6 separate regions of the Homo sapiens genome follow, and regions 2, 3, 4, 5 and 6 are each linked to region 1. Evidence: promoter capture Hi-C in 16 types of primary human blood cells and fetal thymus (Javierre and others, 2016). All regions are on one chromosome and are shown on one strand. Each heading gives the region's core, a stretch centred on a gene start or on the middle of the fragment in contact. The rest is flanking DNA. Distances are from core to core; before and after follow the strand shown. Region 1 holds the start of HOXB-AS2 (HOXB cluster antisense RNA 2). Region 2 overlaps SKAP1 (src kinase associated phosphoprotein 1). Region 3 overlaps SKAP1 (src kinase associated phosphoprotein 1). Region 4 overlaps SKAP1 (src kinase associated phosphoprotein 1). Region 5 overlaps SKAP1 (src kinase associated phosphoprotein 1). Region 6 overlaps SKAP1 (src kinase associated phosphoprotein 1).

Region 1 (3,951 bases), core at 791-3,290:
CAATTGACCAGGCTGACCCAATCCCTTTATTATTATTACCATTAGCCTCTGCTGATTTAACCAAAATTAGCTTCCAAGCAGCCCTGGCTGAAGGGGGAATTAATTAACAGGCATTAGTTGTGGTTGTTATTAATAGAGAAGAGAATGAAATAAAAACGTTGGAGGGGGTTGGCTGGCTAGGCCCTGGCTTTATTTAGTCTGATTGTTACAGCAATAATAATGATGACGATGATGATGATAGTAATAATAATAAAACAATAATTTAACTAGATGCCTGGGGCCGAAATTCCTGCCGCTCCCCTTGCAATAAACCCCAAACCATCGCGGGACGGAGGCCAGGCGAGTGTGGAAAGCGAAGGAGCCAGAGACGCGATAGGAAAGAATGGAGACTCCGCCGGTGGTGCAGACAGGGCTGGGAAGGTTTGTGCACCCGGGTAGTCCCTGGCTGCTGCTGCCAGGCTGCCTCAGCCGGTCGCTGCTGCCGCGGCGACTGGCGACAAGCTACCAGCCACCTACGATGGCCCAAGGAGGCGAAGAAGAGCAAGCGATCAGGACACCAAAACGGTTATCGGAGGCAGGTTCCCAGCACACCAGCCGGCCGAGGGCCGAGCCCCGCGGGCGGCAGCAAGTTTTGGGAGCTGGAGGTAACCGAATTAAAAGGCGCCTTAGAAACTCCGCTTCGGGACTTTGCTCAGCAGGGCTCCGGGTTGGAGGGCGCCGAGGCCTGGCGGACGGGACAGTGGGAAGAGAGAAAGGTGCTAAGGGGACCCAAGATCTGGGATCCAGAACAAGAGGGGGTGGGGAACAACTCTACCAAGCCAAACAGATCTATTTCCCTTGCCTCCATGTTGGAAAAATTCAGGTTCCATATGGCTCCTCGGGAGGGAGGGAGGGAGACGGTGGCTGCCGGCTTCCCCCCAGGGTCTCGCTGGAGAAGGGAGATGAGCCCCCCGCAAGAACCCCACCTTGCCAAGCACACCCCAGGGAGAGCCAGGAGAGTAACAATAGCTGGGGAAGCCCCGAGAGAGGGGATAGGCCATCTTCCAGGACTTAAAAAAATTAATGGGAGAAAGAAAAATAACAAGAAAGGAAGACAGAGAAAGGTTGAGACTTTCTTAGCAGCCGCGGAGAAAATTCAGCCCTGGATCTGGCTGCTGAAAGAAAAGAGAGAGAGGAGAAAAGAGGAGAGAAGCAGGAAGAGAGAGGGGAGAGAGAGAGGGAGAGAGAGAGAGAGAGAGAGAGAGAGAGGGAGGGAGGGAGGGAGGGAGGGAGGGAGAGAGAGAGTCGCTGCGTGGAAGGAAGCTTAAAGCTTGTGAACTCTTCTTGAACCGAGATTGGAGTCATATGGGCCATAAATCATTGAGACATACTCTCCGCCATTCACAAACTGATAGCCTATTTCAGTCCAGCTTACCTTAGCCACCGACGAGGGGAGAACAGGCAGACATAATATATATTCACATCGAGCCCCAGAGCGAGCGGCAGGCGACAAATCTCCCCTCCTTGAAGGCAAAGGAAAAAAAGACCACTGTTTAAAGCTGCGTCGCCCCCCGCCCCCCCGCCCCCGCCCCGCAAAGCCACCCCGGCTGGGGAGCCCGAGGGGCAGACCGGCCAGAGGAGCCGCGCGGCGTCCGCTTCAATTCACTCGGCTTAGGAGCAGGGGTGCGCAGGAGGGAGGGGGTGGGGGAGCGGGAAAAAAAATAGAAGACCGAAAGGTGCCGGGCGGCTCAGCTCGCCAGAATCCAGCTCCGGGCTCCAGCAGGGCTAAGCCGCCACAGTGTGGTTGCCCTATAAGACTGGTACGCCCTACTCTCCGTAACAATGGCCTCTGCTTTTGCACAGGGAAAAAAAACCACACAGACACACACACACACTCACTCACACACAAGCTCACACCCCCCCACCTCTCCCCCTTTAGCAAGCTTAGATGCCTGATAAGGAGGGAAGGTGATGGTGGTGATGGGGAAGGGGGGAAATTTTAAAATACCCGCCTCCCCAAAAAAAGAGTAAGAAGAAAAGAAGGAGGGTTTTTTTTTTTTCCTTAAAGAACAGGTAAAAATTTAAATCTAGATTGGAGGGACAGGGAGGAAGAGGTGAGCAAAGGCAAGGAAGGGCGGTGAAGTTCACAGCTCCCCCCATACCCCACTAGTGAACTATTATGCTAATATGAGAAGTAGTATTTGGAGGCTGAGTCAAAGGCAGGCCTGGCCCGGGGGTGAGGGTGCCGGGTGCCCCTCTGCACTCATTCGCAATTGGAACACCAGGACTTTTTTAGAAAGTAGTTCTGGGTCTCCAACCCTCACACTCTGGCTCCCTCCTTCTGAGTCTCCAGCCCCGGCTTCTTCCCTCCACTACACCCTCTCTATTCCTCCCAAATCTCCCTCCAGTCTCCAGGCCCAGTCTCTAACCAAGGGAGAGGGAAAGACCAGAACTTAAAAAAAAAAAAAAAAAAAAAACACCCCTCCCCCTTTTTCTTTTTGAGAACAGACAACAAGCGGTGAGTGATGATTTTAAAAACTCTGAACATCTTGCAGGGGGAGGAGGGTTGAGAAAAGGGTGACAAAAGGAGGACTCTGTGTTTTAGTTTGAGCTCCAGACTGGCTGGCAGTAGACGGGCTGAAAGAACTTCATGGATAAGTTTCTGTTATGATTCTCACCTCCGAATAGGCAGAAGGGGCTAAGAGGTGATAAGGACATTTGTACTTCTAAGAAGAGAAGAACTAGCAGGGTCGCTTAATTTTAAATGCACTGGCAGAAGAGATGGAAGATGGTTATTATTATTATTCAGAACAACCCTGTTTGTTTCTCTCTGCCCTGCAAGATTTATGACTCTTGGCACAAGTGAGGAAGGCCACAAAAGCTAAAGTTTTCTTAGGGTGTGTTTGAGCAGGGCAGGAAAAGGCAAGGAGGAGGCCTGTAGGAGGAAGACAGGAGCCAAAAATGTAGGTGTCTGCAGATTTGGGACAGGGGGTGGGGAATAGTCATTCCGGGAGGAAGGAAAAGACAAAAAGAGCACCAGGACATTTCCCAAAGCAGGAGTGTTTGCAACTCTGCCTAACTGCTGACTCGGAGCTAGGGGATGAAATAGAAAGCTGACTCTTTTCTCTAAAGGCAGCTTGGAAAACTGGTCCTCTTAACTTCATGTAAGGCACTACCCTGTGATTTCCTGGTTAGAATACTTGGCTTTTGCCTTCTCCCATCTGGATGCACCAGAAGAGGGAACGGGACTGGGGACAACAAAGGTGAGAGTTGATTTCCAGCTTTTGTGTTCCCTCCAGCATAGGTTGGAGGTGTCTGGCAAAGCTTCCCTCATTCCCTCTCTCTCCCCACTCACAGGCTCTACTTTGGGATGAGATAGGGAGTGGCCCCTGGCCTCCAGCCCCTACTTCTTCCAGGCAAGGCTAAGTCAGGCCAGGTGATTTGGAGCAGCCGGTTTCCAGGGGCCCTGATAAACTGGGGGTACCTATGGCCTTCCTGCCCTCCAGCAACAGAAGCCACTTGCAGAGCCTCAGAATGTAATGTCCTGAGGACCCCACCTCCCACCTAGAAAGTTGACAGCTGGGGGGAAGCACGGGTTGGGGGACATGGGGATGGAGGGTGGGAGCTATTTTTCTGTGTTTATTAGCTATTATTCTGTGTTTATTAGTATTTTTCTGTGTTTATTAGTAGTATCAAGAAAATAAAACATCCAAGTCAGACCTAGACTTGGGGCTCAAGCCAGCCTGGAACCCCAAAGAGACCTGTTAGGGGTGCCTGAGCATGTGGCTGCAAAAAGTCTGTCCTGAGATCTCTACACTCTGGTTAGAGACCTACAGGGTCAGACCCCATGTAACTTTGAGCTTGGTGGGTCAGGGACTCAGGCCAGGGAGGCTTCCAGAGGCTTAAAGAAACCAGTACCTTTGGGGTTTTTTTTTCTATCACTCCCCCAAATAAAAAAAAAGCCAAGAATGT
Region 2 (4,058 bases), core at 1,229-3,728, 400 kb before region 1:
ATAACATTCTTTGAGCAGAGAAACAAAATGACCATTTTTCACGGACAAACTTCTAGCTGTAGGTGCAACTTTAATGGCAAAGTTGTGAAGGGGAAAGAAGGGGAAAAAAGGCCATTTTTACTACTTTCACCCTCCTCCTTACCAAAAGGATATTTTTATTTGCTTTCTAACACACTCAATTTCCTAAATTTGTTTTGAATCCAATTATTTTGGGTGGTTTAAAGTACTGCACTCTTGTTGGACGGAAATTAGCAGCGATTGAAATTAACTTTTTATGTGACCTGTGAAAGGGGCTAAAATAATTACAAGTGTGTAGAAGAAACTCTCCAAAAGACCCTTGCTGTAGGATCAGGCTGTGATCCGATGATGCCATTATCCAAATATCTTTATACAGCAAATACAAGGGCTTTTTTCTTTAAAAAGGTGATTGCAATTATTGTTTCTGTTTTGTAATTCTGAGGATTATCTTGTAGAGGATAAGTGATGACAAAAACTTGTCATTATAGACAGGATAAATAAGCAGAAAGAATGAAAATAATAACACAGCATTGTTTACCATTTAAAAATGGTGAGCATCAAAAAGCAGGAGAGGAGGAACAGGAAAGGTGTAGAGACCCCCTTGGTTACAATGTTTCAAAAGGCATTGCTTTGTAGGGATCAGCCAACACCCTTTCTAGGTGTTTATAGATGCTCTGTTTGTGTAAAGTACAGTGAAAAATAACAATTTGAATGTTTCGATTATCTTTCCCAGTCCGTTCCATTTTCATTATTTATTTCCTATAAATCGGGACCTTGCTGAACATAATTCTGCAGACAAGGAGGTGGATGGGACAGCCAATGTGAACAAGGAGATAGATGGTGGGTGCGTATAAGATAGATGCTATGCGCTTATGAAAAAGAGCAGTATGTCTGCATGTGAACATCCACAAAGTAGAGCGAGCAAGCGTGTACACGACAACGGGTATTTATAGGTGGAAAAAGGTGCAAGGAAGATTATGTGGGAACAGGCACAGAGAGTCTGAAACGGTTTGCTCTTTTCCCTACCCTCCTGGAATCCACGTCCAAGTTCTGCCTAAGATGTCCCACACTTGCTGTGGCTCCTGTGAACCTCGCAAGCCTTTCCATGACAACAGACGGGGATTTCACAGCCAGAAGACTTAGGAGGTCAACAGTTGAAAAGCAAGATTTAGAGAGATCTTTAAACAATCACACTAACCTCCCTCCCCTTCCAAAGACAGAAGGAGGAAAACATTTAAAGACGCAGCAGGAAAAAAAAAAAAAAAAAGAGCCTTTCTAAAAATGCAAGTTTAAAATGTTCATGCTTTTGTATCAGCCTAGTTGCACCTTAGAATCTGCCATTTCATAAATAAAATACCGATGGCATAGAGTATAATTTGGTGACAGCTACCCCAGGACATATCTAGATGCACTTCTGTTATTTTAATTAAATACTGCATTATGGTTTGTGACAACTACATAGCTATAGCGTAAATGAATTCAGAATTAAAGTGTTACTTAGGCATCCAGTAATTTTTGTTTCATTCCTTAGTTTTACAAAGCAAATAGCTATAAAATCAAGATGTTTGTTCATTTACAGATGGAGCAGGATTGTCGTCGCTGTTTTTTTCCTCCTTAATCCTCATCCACAAAAAGAAGACACAGTTCAGAGTCTGGCTCCCAACACTCTTAGCTTATGAGCCACATCACAAAGAAAAACACATCCTCTTGACTATAATGTGAAATGCTGAATATTAATTGCTGGTATTATGCCTATCTTTCTAGCTGGGTTCTGTCTTTTAACAATTATTCGGATGGGCTACAGCCTTGCACTGCCAGGAGATTCTTCTCCTTTGTTTAATAGTTAGAAACCAATTTTATTAAAAAACGGTAAAGTTCACAATGCTCCATGTAAGTTCTTAGTATTTGGAACTCTCCCCAAATACAGAATATTATCAGGAACAGAGAAACTGCAGACTCTCTTTGCTAAATATGATGAACATTTCTGCATTTAAAAGAAAAAAATATTTTTCATTTTAGCAATATTAATGTTTCCTTAATGAAACTGGAGAGGGTGTTACAATTTGATATACTTGGTTAGTTTCATTGTCACTTCACTAGCAAATCATGAGAAAGGTTCAGAATATTCTCATCTATCAGGTACAGATTTTCACTCAAAATTAATATGTAGAGTAAAAGGATTTTTGTTCAAATCTGAGGATTTAACTGTATCTTTAACGTTTCATATGTCAAGATGAAAGTTTTTAAATAACTAGTTTTCTGAAACCATTTCTATTATTTCTAATTTGAGAATCAATATGATCTTTTTATTAGCCTTAAATACCATACATCTGGGAATGTCTGCAAATTTAAGCTTTTCTGTGTTCTAATCAATTACCTTCAGTCTTGCATAACTAATCCTATAATCTCCATAGAAGTTACTGCCCTGTATGTTAGCAATGAGGTTATACTTTGTTTCAATATTTTGCTAGTTTGGTTGGAGAGCTGAATCACGCAATACCAAGAAATGGTGGCAGAAGAGGTTTGGGGAGGCTGAGTTTCTTTTGAGAAAATAATTATACTGAAACAAAGCTTTTGTGACTCCTTTTAAATAGGGCATCTCACCAAAATGTCATCCAGCCTCTTTGGCAGATTAGTGGGGAGTTTATTACTAAATCTCTGTCTAATAAATGTGCAGTTGACTCTGGAGGAGCTGCTTGTTATAATACTGGCGGTGGGAAATGGAGGGAATGTCACAGTTAAAGACACAAATTTTCCCCATAATATATTCAAATGGAAACCTCTGAATCCAATACTACATGGGCATATCTAATAAATTCACAATATTTCAGTTTCCGCAGCCTTCACCGGTTAGTTTTAAAGATTTATGTGGTAAAAAATTACTCAGTGATGAATATGGTTTATTCTGTGCAGTATTGGAGGTATAAGGAATTAAACTACCATCTTTAACAGTGAATTTATTATTACCTCTGTCAAAAGACGAAGACGTTAACAGCATTTGTTATAAATTCACTGCAAAATAAATGGCTGGAATTTTTTACACTGGAGTTTGTAAAGCATCGGGCAATTCTGAGCATTAACCTAACCCGGCCGTGGCTTATATGGTTCTAGGTAAACGTTTCTGTCTGGGCTTCGTAGTTAATTATCTGGTCTGGAATTTTCCCCAACTGAAAACTGTGTGCACATGGACACACACACACACACACACACACATACATACACAGAGAGAGAGAAAAGTGAAAGGTCTTGTCCAGGACAACTGTTTAGGAATAAATAGATTAGACTATTTATAGATAGATAGAATAAAATAAAATGCCAATTTTATTCTCTTTTTAAAAAATGGGTTTTAGAATAAATGGTCAGGGTTTGCAGGATGGGTTGATGAGCAACTGGGCCTCTTGTTAGCAGGTTTACATGCATGCATATGCACACACACATAAACACCCTCTCCCTTTTGTCCTCTCTTGGAATGGGTGTCCCCTCATTTATAAAAATTACCTGGAAGGAATGAGGCTGCCAGGGTTTGTTCTAGACGATTGGTTCCTGTCTGGGGGAAAGGAATGGCCTCTACTGAATTTGACCGGTATATGACCGTTGCCTTCCAGCTGACCCCAAATCCCATTCCCATCCTCCTAACTCCGTTGCCTCCCATAGGGGTTATTAATGAGAGAAAACACCATCATCATCATCTTCGTCATCACAGCACAGTGTTGACCTGCTTGTTAACATGAAATGGGGTGGTGGGGACAGCTTCTGCTTCTCTTGCATACCATCATAAATAAGAAAAGATACTTTGCCATAGGATCCCCTCACCCACCCCTTTGATTAGGTCAGAGGTGCATAATAGCTCTTTGACAGGCATTGATCAGTTTCATCACACTGTTTGGGCAGCCTGTGCCCCAGGCCTATATTCTCCCCACTTACTACCCCTAAATTACCTCCCAGATAACCCCCCACCCATCCCCCACTCAGCCAACCAGAGGGTATGGTGCCTGAGGAAGTCCTAAATGGACACTAGATGTCACCAAACACCTCCTTTC
Region 3 (3,854 bases), core at 1,333-3,832, 320 kb before region 1:
TGTAAAAAAAACAAAGGCACACGTTACTGATACATATTTTATAATCTGAGAAACTGAAGTCAAAAGCTGAGGTGAGTTGCCAAAAGTGAGGCACTTGCTAGCAAAGCTAAGAACAGATCTCTCCTTCCTGGTATTCTTCCTTCTTAACCCCCTTTTCTTCACCCTACAAACCACATAGGTGCCTCTTAGGAAACACTAAAGCACTTAGGAATATAGCCTGAAAACTGCTATTGTAGGCCAGTCACCTTCGAACCTAAAAATGCAAGTTCCTGGGCGTGCCTCAGATTAACTGAATCATAATCTGTGCAAATGGGACTCAGGAATCTGTATGCCAGGTTGGGCACCACCATTTTAGACTTCTTTCCATCTGGAATAAGGGACAGGAAATCTGATAGTCTCGTGTTCTATATACTATTCTTTGTAACTGCTGATTGATTTCTATGAGTGCAAAGATACCACCAGGTGGGTACCTTTTTATGTAAAGATTTCAATGCTCTTGCTTTACATTTACATGGGCACAAATATTTATATAATGATCACAAGTTTATTTACAGAAGTAACAGATGGCTGTAAAGGTGATACAAATGTATTTGAGTCAACGGTAAAGGTTCCATTGTGTATTTTACAGGCCTGGGTAAATGTCAGCCTTTACCCAAATATTGGCAGCATAAAGTATATGGATATGGGAACAGTATGGAGTTAGAAAAAATTCCCTGCCCTTCTCGTAGGCTCTGAGTAAGTATCCCATTGGATTAACCAGAGTCCACTTGATTGCTACAGTTTCAATAGCTTGTTCAGACATCGATTGCTGTCATGTCACTAGGAGAAAAGGATTAATAATAGGGTGCTCAGGCTGGCTCAATACTGCTGATAGTGCCTGACAAAAGACCGTTAGTAGGACTCCCATGGGGACACTGCCTGCATAGGAAAGCTACAAACAACATCATTCAGGATTTCGCAGAATAATGATTAACTACAGAACTTCAGCCTACAAAACCCAACCAACAGTTCTATTATTTCCAAATAAATTCACTGCTTGATCTTCCTTTTCTTAGGTTCACAGATTATCCAGAATCAGAATGTCTAGTGGATATTCATAACCATGATTGTGTTCTTATATAAGTCACTGTGCCTGGACTGTTTTCGAGAGATGCATTTCTGCCAATCCTGATCATGGAAAACAGCAAGATACTAGAGGAGCTTGGTTTGGCAAGTGTCTCCTGAGTAAATTTTACAAAAGAAATGCTCCATCTCCAATAGGAACTCTGTGGCAGTTGTGGCTAATGGGTACCACAATCTGGGGAGGTCACCAGTTCTGGATCTCACATTTGAAAAAACTCAATTTCAGCTATGGAAAATTAAATGGGGCTACTTTGCAATGGGTTTCAATGTTCAGTTGAGATTAAGGTGAAGGAGGGTGTTAAAAGGAAATATTGATGATTCTTTACATCAATAGAAAAGAGAAAGGATGGCAGTGCTAGAATGTGTGGTTTTGTTGAACTGTGTTGTCCCTGTTTGGCAAAGGTTTGGTGATGGAACTAGAAAGAAGGGGACAAATTCTGACTTCTAGTAAAAACAAGAATAGTCTGTAATTTAAACAGATAAAATATAATACTATAAAATTTTACTGTACTAATTGTATAAAATATGGGTAAAATAAGATTACTGGCCAAGTGTGGTGGCTTACACCTGTAATCCCAGCACTTTGGGAGGTCGAGGTGGGTGGATCACGAGGTCAGGAGTTCGAGACCAGCCTGGCCAACATGGTGAAACCCCATCTGTACTAAAAACATACAAAAAATTAGCCGGGCATAGTGGCTCGCACCTGTAATCCCAACTACTAGGGAGGCTGAGGCAGAAGAATTGCTTGAACCCAGGAGGCAGAGGTTGCAATGGGCTGAGATTGTGCCATTGTACTCCAGCCTGGGTGACAGAGCAAGACTGTGTCTTGAGAAAAAAAAAATGTTTACTTAGAGTGGCAGAAATACAAGCCAACAGCTTCTCTCTCTGCATCCCCCATGCTTATATGACAAGAGTTCCAAGTTGTTTGAGTGTTTGGTTTTTTTGGCAGTGAAAGGTTTAAGGGCATTTATCTCTATAACTAGCAATTTAATAAGTACATGACTTCTTACTCAAGTGCATTTAGATAATTTTCTAAGCTTTCATAACAGCTTTATTTATTTATGCTTTAATGCCTTTCCTCTTAAGAGCTCAAGATGCTGGTTATTTAACATTTTATATTCAGATATGAGGATTAAAAAAAGGCACTGGGTGCCATGCTGCTGTCTCCAATGATAGCTCCACTAAAAATAACACAATTAACTTGATGTCAGCCCTCAGCTTGTTCTTAAATATAGGTTTCTTAAAAATATCCAGACTACTTTAATTAGAGTCACAGAATATTTTAATTATTCCTAAAAGACTGAGTATACTCCATTGACTACAATAAAGACATGAGATAGAAAGCAGTTCTCTAGGAACTTATATATGCTAATGATTATGTCACATTAATGGGAATATGGGCAGTTGTTTAGGATGAAATTGGTACAGGGCTAGACATGGACACCTGTGAAGAAAACTGAGGCCATGTGTCATCTGGCATGAGGTAAATGGCATCTGAGCCCCAGATATCATCAGAAATGCAAAATTCTGAAATTCAAGGTAATATGTTGTTCAGTTCAACTTAATTTTAATCAGATGCAATCCAACCCTGGAAACCTTTATTCAGCATCTGTTATATGTCAGGTAATGTTCTGAGATCTGTGGGGGTACCAAAATAAATAAGAAATACATTCTATTTTCAAGGCACTTTTTTTTTTCTGGTAGGAAAGACAGTCAAATAAATAACCACAGAATGTGATGAGTAAAAAGCAAAATTACAAATGTATGCATTAATACAAAATGAATAAAGGAGATTTATGGTGGCATGATATGGCAGAACAAGGATGAGTTTTGAAATCATGCAGACCCTGGTTTAAATTCTGGATATTTCAATTGCTTGCCATAAAGCTTTTAGCCTTGGTTTTATGTTTTGAGAATGGAGATCTCAATGTATTTTAAAATGCTTTGTGAAGATAAAGCAAGGCAAGATTTGTAAAAGTATCGAACTAGTTCCTAGCATGAGAATCCTAATAGGAGCTCAAGAAATGTTACGTTTTTCCTTGTGTGTATATGTGAAGGCTTCACAGAGGAGACAAAGACTGAGCTGGGTTTTGAAGGATGAATAGGAGTTCTCTAAGACTAATGGAACAATATTTGGAAAAAGAGAGATGTGGAAAAGTGGGGAATATCTGGTATTGTTGATATATAAAAGGGGAATGAGCAGCAAAGGGACCTGAAGATAGGGAGGTGGCAGAGATCTACAAAGAAAGTGAGAAATGAACATAAATGTGTATACTTAGGGAACACCACAGAATGTGTGACCATGGAGCATTCAGCATCACCATGGTTGAAGGTCCATAAAGTAACAAATTGTCCTAACTTGCTAGACAACTATCAAGTTTGAACAGCCTCAAAAGTTAGCTTTCACTTTTTTTTTTTTAGTGAGTTCATCAAAGTTGCTCACAGACTCCATTTAGTAGAAAACTGCAGAACAAGATCAACTACAACAAAACTCTGAATGCAGACACAGTCATTTCATTCTGTGCTAAGGTAACTGATAAGTGGACAATAGAAGAATATCCAAGATGCTGCTGGAAATTGTGTTAAAGTAGGACAAGCATGAGAGAGGTTTAATGCCATGAAATCTTTCAGTAGTGCAGCAAAGCTGAGGATGGCAAAGAATGTTGGTGTTCACCTCCCAACTCCAACTCACAGTGCTGAGAACTTAGCAAGTGTATGATGCTATTCCACTC
Region 4 (4,051 bases), core at 1,382-3,881, 340 kb before region 1:
CTATTAGCTTCTGATTGTTTCTTCTTCTTTAATTTTTTGTAGAGATGGGATTTTGCCATGTTGCCCAGGCTGGTCTCAAACTCTTGGGTTCAAGCAATCTACCCACCTTGGCCTCCCAAGTGCTGGAATTACAGGCATAGGCCATTGCACTGGGCCTGATTGTTTCTTAATTAAGAGAAGCTGAACTTTCTCCAGTTCCTTTTTTTTTTTTTCTCTTTTTCTAAAATTAGAGGCTGGGCTCACACCTGTAATCCCAGCATTTTGGGAGGCTGAGGCAGGCAGATCACTGGAGGTCAGGAGTTCGAGACCAGCCTGGCCAACATGGTGAAACCCTGACTCTACTAAAAATACAAAAATTAGCCAGGCATAGTGGTGCGTGCCTGTAGTCCCAGCTACTTGGGAGGCTGAGGCAGGAGAATTGCTTAAACCTGGGAGGCGGAGGTTGCAGTGAGCTGAGATTGCGCCGCTGCACTCCAGCCTGGGTGACAGAGTGAGACTCTGTCTCAAAATAAAGTAAAATAAAATAAAATAAAATAAAATAAAATAAAATAAACAGATGGCATTCCACTATGTTGGTCAGGCTGGTCTCGAACTCCTGGGTTCAAGCAATCCTCCTGCCTCAGCCTCTCCAAGTGCTGGGATTACAGGTGTGAGTCACTGCACCTGGCCTCTGGTTTTTAAATTATAGAGAAATAAAAAAATTGAACCACCATACTAACTGTAATGTTCCTACAGTACTGTTTTTATATCATAATGAAATAGTCAGCTATAGATCTATATCTAAAATGTGTTTTATTGCCCTAATGCCCTCTGAAGAAGGGTAGCTGAAGGGTAGGGGTATTCTTGTTAATGCCTATGTCTACACTTCCTTGGGTGGGTATGGAGGAAGACAAGCAGAAAGCTGTGATAATAATTATAAAAAGATAAAAGTGGAAACCTCTATGTTGGCCATAGCCTTGTGATTTGGCTTTTGTGAAAAATATTCAGGGAAATAGTAGGGAATTTTAACAATTGATTTGGAATTCCCCAGGGTGCAAGCCACAACATATATCTGCGAAAGCAGAACCGAAGGAACACCATTGGGCAGACGGAGGCTTTGGGCTTTTTAAAAAGGTATGTAAAAAGGGAAGGGTGAGGATGCAGACGTGTCAGATCAGCCTGTTGTGAGATATGACTCTGGACTCAGGAGAAGACCATTTTCTCATGGCCTCCCCATTCTTTTTGCTAAGGTTCTTAACAGAAATTTTTTTTTTTCCTGCTGTTGGATGATACCAAGTCCAGGCTCGAGACCACACTGGATGGACATGACAGGCAGGGGCCCACAGAGGGAAGCTGCAGTTCAGATAATTCTCCACAGGGAAGCAGTATGAGATCAGGGTTTAGATAGAGGCAGCCCCAGCATCACCAGCTCTCCCTGGTTCTAATTGGAGACAGTTTTCCTCCTTTCCTTTCACTGTGTAAGATAAGCACCAACAGGGCAAGCTCACCTTTCAGGAGAGCCCCTGAGCCTAACTGCAATCCTCCATGTAGCCCTTTACTCCCAGGCCTGTTCCTCCTCACTTAAACAGCTGGCTTTCAGCATATTGCTTTGTTTATTCCATCTCTGACCTATGCATTATCTGAAGGATGCCATAAGGGTTCAACATGCCCACCTTTGTGAAATTACCTCATTCTGAGCTGCTGGGTTCATACCACTGACACAGAGGGGAAACCTGCAGAGGGAAGCTTAGCAACATGTCACACACATGTTGTTCTTGGCAGTATGAATTCCGGTGACTTTTGACATTTCTTAAACAGGAGTCAGTTATATCTTTCCTACTCTGAGGAAAATGGTGCCAGCTACAACTTGATCTTGTTTGAGTTATAGAAGCAATACAACTTTATAGACAAGACTCTGAATAGAGAGCTTACAACTGAGATTCTATCTTGACAACATCCCATTGATAGAGTGTGTGATAACTGCAAAGCCACTATTTATCTTACTTGCTTATGAAATTGAAATAACATATTGCTGATAAGTCTTAAGAACTAAGTACCCTATGTCCACTTTGCACAAGCACCCAATACTGTGAATATACTTTTTTTTTTTTTTTGAGACAGGGTCTCACTCTGTTGCTCAGGCTGGAGTACAGTGGTACAATCTCAGCTCACTGAAACCTCCACCTCCTGGGATCAAGGGATCCTCTCACCTCAGCCTCCAGAGTAGCTGCGACTACAGGTGCACACCATCATGCCAGGCTAATTTTTGTATTTTTTGTAGAGACAGGGTTTCGCCATGTTATCTAGGCTAGTCTCGAACTCCTGAGCTCAAGCGATTCAACCACCTCGGCCTCCCAAAGTGCTGGGATTACAGGTGTGAGCCACTGCACCTGGCCTGAATATTCATAAGAGATAAAATTTTGCCCTCTCTTTTGTCAGACATTCTCTAGAATGCATGTTCTTTCATGGACAGATTGGCAAATATTATAAGTATCAGATTCAAAACTTTCTAAGAAATTTAAATGTTGAATTCTTCTAATACAAGAAGCAAAAATTCCATTTTCAGCGTTTCATGTGTTGAGAGTGAAAAGGGGGAATATAAGAAAGAAGTGAAGTCCAGATTTCCTAAAGTACATCTCAGGTAAGCCTCTCTCTTATCACATATTTTATTTTTTTACCTGAAATATTTCAGAACTTAAATGTTTTTGTCAAATTTGAAAAAGGTGTGTGGTATTGACTTCTTCATACTGATCTCATTTTTATTTTCTTTATAGTCTGTCCAAATCATTTTCAGGCCCCTTAAATCAGTTACCTTTCTTCTAGGGACAATCAATAGAAAGCAAGCAAAAAGAAAAAAGAGTGAGACCTGCCCTCTCAGTGGTCTCCTGGGTAACTTTATCTCCCAGACAGGATGATGCAAAGATGAACAGAAGAGGGGTTTCTGAATAGATTTCCAGTAGGATTGCTGTCAAGATGGGATCAGCTGCAATGGTGCCAGATAAAAACTGCAGGAGACCGAGATGGGTGGATTGCTTGAGCTCAGGTGTTTGAGACCAGCCTGGGCAACAGGGCAAAACCCCATTTCTACAAAATACACAAAAATTAGCCTGGCCTGGTGGTGTGCACCTGTAGTCCCAGCTGCTCGGGAGGCTGAGGTGAGAGGATAGCTTGAGCCAAGAGGTCGAGACTGCAGTGGGCTGAGATTGTGCCACTGCACTCCAGCTTGGGTGACAGAGGAAGATATTGTCTCTAAATAAATAAATAAGAAAAGGTTAGGTAAAGGTAAAAATTATATGGAGTCCACTGCAATATCTCTTATCCAAAAGAAATTTGTTAAAAAAAAATTTTAACAGCTCAAACTACCTTTGAGGCTAATAAAGGCACCAAAATGGATTATCAGACCATGATTTGAGGTTTGAAAAAGGATGCCAGTGCTGACTGACTGGGAAGCTATTGGAAATAAATTAAAAGGCTACATTATGTGAAACAGAGGGTCACAGCATAGGAACATCTTGAAAAGCCATAGGTGCACCAATTACATTTATCAAGATGTTAGTGAAAGCTTTGTGTATGGCTTGTTTTTGCAGGTCATTTGTATGAGATATTGTTGGATAAACTGATTTCATAGAGAAGGAGGAAGGTACTAAGTATCACATTGTGTTAATGTGCCAGCTTGCCACCTTTGGGATCAGATTTGGTGCAGGGCACAAATGAAATGAGTTTGGTGGCTTCAAGCTAGGCTACCACTGATATTTATCCTTAAACAAAATCACAAATCATTTGCTAACAGCTAGGATCAGAGACCTGGGGCTGAGACAGTAAGAATGTTGCAGGTCAGGAGGAAGACTAGCTGGCAGAGTTGGGTTAGGGAAGCAGCCATTTCCTCTAGGTCTCCAGCTTGGCTTCAGCTTATGTTACCAACCAACCCTTCTCATCCATAAACACTGACATTCACACTGATTTTACAACCTCTCTTTGCCTGGCAAACCCAACATCAATATTCCCAACAGCATTTCATGAAACCTCTAGTTATCAAAGTCCTCATCACTTAATCAATTCTAAGAATAATAAT
Region 5 (3,958 bases), core at 832-3,331, 360 kb before region 1:
GGCTCATGCCTGTAATCCCAGCACTTTGTGGGGCTGAGGCAGGCAAATCACGAGGTCAGGAGTTTGAGACCAGCCTGGCCAACATGGTGAAACCTCATCTCTACTAAAGATACAAAAAATTAGCCGGGCATGGTGGCACACACCTGTAATCCCAGCTACTCGGGAGGATGAGGCACAAGAATCTCTTGAATGCGGGAGGCGGAGGTTGCAGTGAGCCGAGATCGTGCCATTTCACTCCAGCATGGGCGACAGGATGAGACTTCGTCTCAAAACAAAACAAACAAAAAAAAGTATGCGAAAGAATCTAAGAACTGTAAAAGGCTTCACAAATAATACCCTGAAACTTACATCAGCCTTTAATTGTATGCTGCTAACATTCTTGGCTTTCAATTAGCCTTGTTAGGTACAAATTTATTGAGAAGTCAAGATCCTAATCCATCTTCCTCCACTGGGGTTTATACTTACTTCACAGAAGGGAGGGACAAAGGATGGAGACAAAGAAGGAATTTACTTCTCAAAAAATAAAATGAAAGAAGAATGAAAAAAAAAGCCTCTTTTAAGGACACACTCCACATTTCTTAATTAGGCAAAATGAAGGTAATTGGGCTAGCGGTATTTTAACATTTATTCTTTTTAGTCCCAGAACTCAAATCTCTTTTGGATTGTCTTAAATAATTTATGAAGCAAACCAAATACAAAACAAAGTAAGGCATAACTACATATGAATCAACTGGGCCACCTATAGAGTATCTTGAGAGTTATGGTTGAAATAACTTTTTTTCAAACAATTGTTTTTTGAACATTTCCTACAATAACATTTATTCAATGGTGGCTATGAGCTGGCACTTTGCTCAGTGCTTTTCCTACTTTTTGTTTTAAAATAACATCTACGACAATTTAAAATGCAATCAAAATTACATTTTGCTTTAAAGCTGTTTCAAGCTTAGTTATAAAAAGGTAGATCAGAAGAGCCTCTTTTTCTGTTTTTAAGTGTGTCTATGTGCCTGATTTTTTATCCAATTGGTCCTTATTGTTAACCTCCTTGTTCATGGACTACTTTTATTTGTGTGTTTCACAGTTAGCAAACTATGTGGTTGCCATAAATCCTTTTAATCAATCTCAGGGTGCACGCATGAGATGAACAGCAGCAAAGGAAAGTTCATTTTTCTAGGGTTCTTTCATTTCTCCTACCCCTCTGAAAACACCCTCCAAGGAAACAGTAGCAGATTCTACTGAGGGTGAGGCATTGAGTGGGGTGAGGACCAGTTACAGAAGAGAAGGCTCTCTGAAGTGCTGTCAAAAAATTGCTCCTGGGGAGGCCAGGTGTGGTGGCACAAACCTGTAGTCCCAGCTACTTGGAGGCTGAGGTAGGAGGATCTCTTGAGTCCAGGAGTTCAAGGCTGCAGTGAGCTGTGATTGAACCACTTCACAACAGCCTGGGGACAGAGCGAGACTCTGCCTCTTAAAAAAAAAAATTGCTCCTGGAGGCCTAAAAATTAAATGAAAGACATAGGGAGATGAGGAAAACACGATCCCATAAGCTGGGAGTTTCCATCTCTTCTTTCCACAGGTTTTTTTTTTCTTTTCTTTTTAAAGGTCTTGTTAAACTTAGAGACACAGCTCCTTGTCAAAGATGCCAAGAGTCTGAATCATAAAAGACATGTTAAACGTTCTATTAGAATTCAAACCTCCTTTTTTTAATGCAAATTTAAATGCCATTTTATGGAACATCTATAATTATGAAAATGGGAAGACATTGCCTCGTGTGCAGGGAGAGTCTGTGAGTATGAATATTACATTAATGTGCCCACACCAGCTCACTGATCCTGCTGGCAGGAGCATAAAAAATGCCTGAGTGAAACTTTTATTTAGATGTTAAGACTCCAGGCCCCAGCGGGGTGACAGAGACAGCCCCTGTGAGTTGCCATCAGAGAGAGAGCTTGAATTGAATTACCCAGGGGGGAGGAAGTAGTGATGAGCACTGCTTCGCTTATTTAATTTCATTTACTTTCAGTACATTATCAGCATGAGGTTTTTCTCTCCCCACCAACTGAAACCCAAGAATGCCACCACTAAGGAAACAAAGACATAATACAGCAGAGATGTAACTCTAAGTCACTAATTCTAGGAGACAAGGGATAGCACCATCACCACCTTCTCTCCCCAAGAGTCAAACTCAGTTTGCTAAAATTGGGTACCAAAGGAGCTGCTGAATTTTTTCTCTTGGTCATTCACTAACAAGATTCTGAAAAGGAATAGAGCTGGAAACAGCTTTTTATATGGTGTGTTTTTGTGTATAGTCAGTAAGATGTGTTATGTTGCTTTCTTTCTTTCTTTTTTTTGAGACAGAGTCTCACTCTTGTCGCCCAGGCTGGAGTGTAATGGTGTGATCTCAGCTCACTGCAACCTCCACCTCCCGGGTTCAAGCGATTCTCCTGCTCCAGCTTCCCAAGTAGCTGGGATTACAGGCATGCACCACCATGCCTGAATAGTTTTTTGTATTTTTAGTAGAGACGGGGTTTCTCCATGTTGGTCAGGCTGGTCTTGAACTCCTGACCCCAGGGGATCCAGCCGCCTCGGCCTCCCAAAGTGCTGGGATTACAGGCATGAGCCACCGCACCCGGTCTATGTTGCTTTCTTATTCATTAGACAGAATCTGTATTGAGGAATTCTCTTGCCTGGTTCCCCTTATGGGCAGTGGGAAAAAATGGGATTATAGGCTCAGTTTAGAATGTCTACGGAAAAAAAATTAGGAAATGAGGTCAGATCAGTCTCTAGTCTACTAACTGTCTTCTGTGTACAAGGTACTGTGTGGTGAGTTCAATAACAGAGTTGTTCTCAATGTAGTTGGCTCTGAGCTCAATCTCATTAGCTCCATGATCTATCTGACAAATCCAAATAACCAAGGTGGGAATCCACAGTGGCATGCAAGGTACCTCCTCTTTCAGTGTCAGCGCAGGGTCCTACTGATCAAGAACTAGTGATCCTGAGGATGAACAGTGTTAGCCATGCCATGGGGTGATGAGGCAGGAATCTTGTATGCCTGGATCCACACCTACTGGTAAACGAACAGATCTGCAGAGAACTACTTAATGCATAATAGAAAGTATGTAAAATATGCTTTAAAGGACGGTTATAAAAATAGGAAGAAGTTGCAAACAATTGTATAAGTTGCTATTTTAAGGCAAACAATTTATATTTAAGTATACAATTAAAAAAAGAAGCTTTTTATTCATTACCTGAGAAAAGATATCACCACCGTCATGAAAAAATAAAAATGATTTTGATTTATTGAGAATAAATGGCCCTCTTGGCTAAGTCTAAAGGTGTATTACATTATATCAGCACAAAACAGAATTACATTAGTGTCATAATCTCTCCCTACCACTACACTTAACTAAACCTCTCAGAACAGCCCGTATAAAGAAAAGATTCACTTAGCTGAAGGATATGGGGCCACAAAGATAAGATCAACAGAGAAGTATGTTACCCAGAAGTGATGGCCACCCAACTTTCATGGCAGATGAAGATAAAAGAAATTCTCAGATATCTTTCTCTTCATCTAGTTTCCTTTAAACCCTTGTATCCCACCCACATCAAAAAAAGCAATAAAAAACGACAGAATAGGATTCCATCTCTCAATGCTAAACATGACTCTTTAGTCAGCTATGCACAGCAACAACAATGGGGACCCTTTGGAGTGTGATACATTTCCATAAAGCAGTCAATAAAAAAGACACGAGAGCTTATGTGAGTCACGGCCTATTTAACCAGCTGCGTTCTAGCCCACTGAGAAAAGAGAATTGGAGAAATCAGTTGGCAACACCAGAGCACAAGGCTAATAGCACAGGAGGCCACACAATTTCCACGCAAAAAGGCTGCAGCCCCTGCAGAACAAACCAGGTGCCCACTAACTTTCATTATAGGCAGCTGGCTTGGTCTCTTGCTAAATCATCCT
Region 6 (3,777 bases), core at 904-3,403, 380 kb before region 1:
ACAGATTTTCATTTGGAATTCTGTACAGTAAGTAGACAACAGAAGGAAATAGGTTTCAGAATGGACCTAATCACATGTGTTCACTATCATGAGGTACTTGCAGCTACACTCACATCCGTGCATCACACCCGCCTCCACTGCTTTCTTTCTCTCCTGCTTTGGCGCATGACTTCTGAGGCTGCATCTTCGTTGTCTCTTCTCTTCCCTGGGAGAAGCTGGACCCTTAGGAAGTTGGGTCCTGAACCTTTTAAGTATTCACTTTCTGTAGAGAATGAACCTAGAAATGGGGGTTTTGCTGGATGGATAAGGAGAGAAGAAAAAGCACAAGGAAAGGAGAGAGGAGAATAGGAAAAGACAGGGCTAGATAATGGAGAAGGAGCAGGGAGGGAAAGAGGGCAAGAATTCCTAGGCTTAAGATTTTCATAGACTCCCTAAGAAAAATATCAGCCAGTATCTAAATCAGTCATGATTAGGGCTCTGCCGACGGAACGAATGTCCTTGAGGTGGCCCTTGCAATGTGCAGCATTCCTTTACTGACAACCATGGAATAGGTCCTTGGTCCACTTAAGGAGGCTTCAGAGGGGCATCTGACCTTAGAAAGGATGGGCTCACTAACAGCCTGAAGCATGGTTAACAGTCTGGGATGAATAAGATGTAATTTTATATTCAACAAACCTGTTACATATTCATTTCCAAATGTGCCTGGAATCAAACCAGGCTATCAGAAGTCAGCATCACCAAGGAATTTTATCTTTCACCCTGTGTTCACTTTTCAGATCTGACACATTTCCATTCCCCTCTGAACTTGCAATCTCCGGGCCTCTCAGAGAGGAGACATTTCCATTCTTTCCATTCTCAATCCTCTGATCTCTTAGAGATGAGGCAATTCTATTTTCACTGTACTGATATAAGAAATATTGATAGGAAAAAATAAATGTCTGGTTTGGCTTCCCACCCGCTCTAGGATAAATCTTGGCTGTTCTGGGAACATTAATTAAAGTGAATGTATGGCTGCTTTTAAAGTTTAGGTATTTCCCTACCCAGTCACTTTATTTAGGGCTTTGGGGTTCACACACAGGTACCCTCTTAATTATTGAGTTCAGTAATTTTTGTAGTCTCAGAGAAAGGTGCTTTCTCTAATCAGAAGCCCATAATGTCCTACCCAGTGCCTGTGCATTTAGAAGCTCTTATACCTCCTTTTCGTCGAGTGCCACTCTCATCCTCTTCTAGATCATGCTCTTCATCTGGGGGGATAAATGATCAGTATTAGCAATTAGTGGTTCACAGTCTCATGTTCTTTTTTTTTTTTTTCGAGATAGAGTCTTGCTCTGTTGTCTAGGCTGAAGTGCAGTGGAACGATTTTCGGTTCACTGCAAATTCCACGTCTGGGGTTCAAGGGATTCTCCTGCCTCAGCCCCCTGAGGAGCTAGGAGTACAGGTGCCCACCACCACGCCTAATTTTTGTATTTTTAGTAGAGATGGGGTTTCACTATGTTGGCCAGGTTGGTCTTGAACTCCTGGCATCAGGTGATCCACCCTCCTTGGCCTCCCAAGGTATTGGGATTACAGGTGTGAGCTACTGCGTCCAGCCAGTCAGTCTCATGTTCCTTATACGGAAAGGTCCCCTTTCTCTGAGCTCATCATACTCTCTTCTTTAAGGAAAGTTTAATTACTGTTGTTTTTTTTTTTTTTTTTTTTTTTTTAGGCAGAGTTTCACTCTTTGTTGCCCAGGCTGGAGTGCAATGGTGTGATCTTGACTCACTGCAACCTCCACCTTCCGGGTTCAAGCTATTCTTCCCGAGTAGCTCAGCCTCCCGAGTAGCTGGGATTACAGGCTCACAGCACCATGCCCAGCTAATTTTGTATCTTTAGTGAAGATGGGGTTTCTCCATGTTGATCAGGCTGGTCTCAAACTCCTGACCTCAGATGATCCGCCCACCTTGGCCTCCCAAAGTGCTGGGATTACAGGCGTGAGCCACCGTGCCTGGCAATTACTGTGTTCTTAAAAAAAATATTAATTTGTCACCTTCAAACTGGCCCTCTCCTTCCCTTCCCTTTCATTTATTCATAAGCATGTTGAAGTGCTCATTACATGCAAGACATTGCACTAGGAACTGGGGACAAGCAATAAACAAGACTGTCAGAGTTCCTGCCCTTGTGGAGCTTCCAGTCCATTGGATTATTTAGATGTCTATCACCAGAATCCTAATCCTTTTCCTCAAACTCCATTTCTCCTTCCCTCTGGAATTCTCTTCAAAATTATTATCTCTATGCAAGCATTCTCTCTAGTTTTAAGCATTCTAGAGTTAGGATGTTAGAGTGTGTGTGTGTGTGTGTGTGTGTGTGTGAACAACCCTCTGTGATTGGCTGGGTGCGGTGGCTCATGCCTGTAATCCCAACACTTTGGGAGGCCGAGGCGGGCAGATCATGAGGTCAGGAGTTGGAGACCAGCCTGGTCAACATGGTGAAACCCCGTCTGTGCTAAAAATACAAAAATCAGCTGGGCCTGTGGCGGGCGCCTGTAACCCCGGCTACTCAGGAGGCTGAGGCAAGAGAATTGCTTGAATCCAGGAGGCAGAGGTTGCAGTGAGCCGAGATTGTGCCACTGCACTCCAGCCTGGGTGACAGAGCAAGACTCTGTCCTGGGGAAAAAACAAAAAACAAAAAACCCTCTTTGATTAATTAGTCCTTAATCCTTAATGTATCCATCTTTGTTCAGCTGTAATGGAGGCTGGTCATGTACATAATTTTATGTTCCTAGTACTTGGGGCTTGTAGTTATCTTTTTACTGTTTTTATTCAGCATGTCTTGTTCATTAGAGTATAAGCTCCTGAGGGTAGCTGGAATGGTCTTTTAATTAATTGCCGTAGATTCACAATGGGTTCTAACTCAATGCCAGTGTCTAACTCCAGTCAAATGTTTATACGGTCAAAGTCATAACATAATTGGCCTAAGTTTCTTACTCCCATTAACCGGTTTCATCTCGTCACATTACCCGATAAAATAGGAATTGGACCCTTATAATGTAAATATGTGTACCAGAATCATATTTAGCTATTTTATACATGGGGCAAAGTGAAGAAAAATACACTCGTTATTCTTTTCACTACCACCATGCTCTTTTCCCACTCTCTCACTCACACATATATACACACATATGCACAGTAGATAGGGTATAGTAAGCAATGTTTTGAGGGCTGAATACTCAGCTCCTCCTGGCCACATTTACTTTCCTTTCTCCTGAGTCTTAATGACATTTGCTTGTCTTGCTTCTCCATAGTTTTGCCACTAAATGAAACTTTGACATTTCTCTTTCTTTTTTTAAATGTAATGTTTATAGGGCAATATGAGTTCCGGTATGCCAAACTGGGGAAGTAAGCTCCAAGCTCATAGGTAAGAAGGAGCAGCATAAAAATATATTAGAATACTATAAAGCATTAAAGGAGTAATTGATTTCAAGTAAGAAAGAGACTGATATGGCCAGGTGTGGTGGCTCATGCCTGTAATCCCAGCACTCTGGTAGGCTGAGATGGGAGGATCACTTGAGCCCAAGAGTTAGACACCAGCATAGACAACAGAGCAAGACCCTGTCTCTATAAAAAATAAAAATAAAAATTAGCTAGGCACAGTGATGCACACCTGTAGTTCCAGCTACTTGGGAGACTGAAGCAAGAGGATTGCCTGAGCCCAAGAGTTTGAGGCTGCAGTAAGCCATGATTGCGCTACTGCAGTCCAGCCTGGGCCTGGGCAACAGAGCGAGACCTTGTCTCTAAAAAA

What was found. Contacts are between HindIII fragments. The CHiCAGO score rates a contact against its expected background, and 5 or more counts as called.
Region 2: a contact is called between a fragment that was not itself captured here and the fragment with the promoter of HOXB-AS2 in region 1, in 2 of 17 cell types (megakaryocytes and M1 macrophages). The highest score is 5.6, in megakaryocytes.
Region 3: a contact is called between a fragment that was not itself captured here and the fragment with the promoter of HOXB-AS2 in region 1, in 1 of 17 cell types (total CD8 T cells). The highest score is 5.4, in total CD8 T cells.
Region 4: a fragment that was not itself captured here is called in contact with the fragment with the promoter of HOXB-AS2 in region 1 in 1 of 17 cell types (M1 macrophages); the score reaches 5.6 in M1 macrophages.
Region 5: a fragment that was not itself captured here is called in contact with the fragment with the promoter of HOXB-AS2 in region 1 in 2 of 17 cell types (M1 macrophages and endothelial precursors); the score reaches 5.3 in M1 macrophages.
Region 6: a fragment that was not itself captured here is called in contact with the fragment with the promoter of HOXB-AS2 in region 1 in 1 of 17 cell types (M1 macrophages); the score reaches 5.4 in M1 macrophages.

What each region holds. Positions count from the first base shown.
Region 1 is chr17:48,554,117-48,558,067 of GRCh38, forward strand. HOXB-AS2 (HOXB cluster antisense RNA 2) reads left to right here and starts at 2,041. Exons shown (of 2, transcript NR_046610.1): 1 at 2,041-3,242. HOXB3 (homeobox B3) reads right to left here. Exons shown (of 5, transcript NM_001384749.1): 3 at 1,415-1,502. The HindIII fragment of the contact is 1,381 bases long and covers 1,921-3,301 here.
Region 2 is chr17:48,149,819-48,153,876 of GRCh38, forward strand. All of the region lies in intron 11 of SKAP1 (src kinase associated phosphoprotein 1), which reads right to left. LOC124904018 (a long non-coding RNA gene) reads left to right here. Exons shown (of 2, transcript XR_007065827.1): 2 at 752-3,058. Among named protein-coding and RNA genes, the nearest start is that of MIR1203, 4.7 kb to the right of the region's middle. RefSeq lists an enhancer at 1-513. The HindIII fragment of the contact is 218 bases long and covers 2,370-2,587 here.
Region 3 is chr17:48,231,906-48,235,759 of GRCh38, forward strand. All of the region lies in intron 4 of SKAP1 (src kinase associated phosphoprotein 1), which reads right to left. Among named protein-coding and RNA genes, the nearest start is that of SKAP1-AS2, 61 kb to the right of the region's middle. The HindIII fragment of the contact is 850 bases long and covers 2,158-3,007 here.
Region 4 is chr17:48,214,417-48,218,467 of GRCh38, forward strand. The region is part of intron 4 of SKAP1 (src kinase associated phosphoprotein 1); the gene reads right to left. Among named protein-coding and RNA genes, the nearest start is that of MIR1203, 60 kb to the left of the region's middle. The HindIII fragment of the contact is 1,816 bases long and covers 1,724-3,539 here.
Region 5 is chr17:48,190,717-48,194,674 of GRCh38, forward strand. All of the region lies in intron 4 of SKAP1 (src kinase associated phosphoprotein 1), which reads right to left. Among named protein-coding and RNA genes, the nearest start is that of MIR1203, 36 kb to the left of the region's middle. RefSeq lists an enhancer at 1,453-2,070. The HindIII fragment of the contact is 2,282 bases long and covers 941-3,222 here.
Region 6 is chr17:48,169,416-48,173,192 of GRCh38, forward strand. It overlaps SKAP1 (src kinase associated phosphoprotein 1), which reads right to left. Exons shown (of 13, transcript NM_003726.4): 10 at 1,194-1,244. Among named protein-coding and RNA genes, the nearest start is that of MIR1203, 15 kb to the left of the region's middle. The HindIII fragment of the contact is 4,519 bases long and covers 1-3,777 here.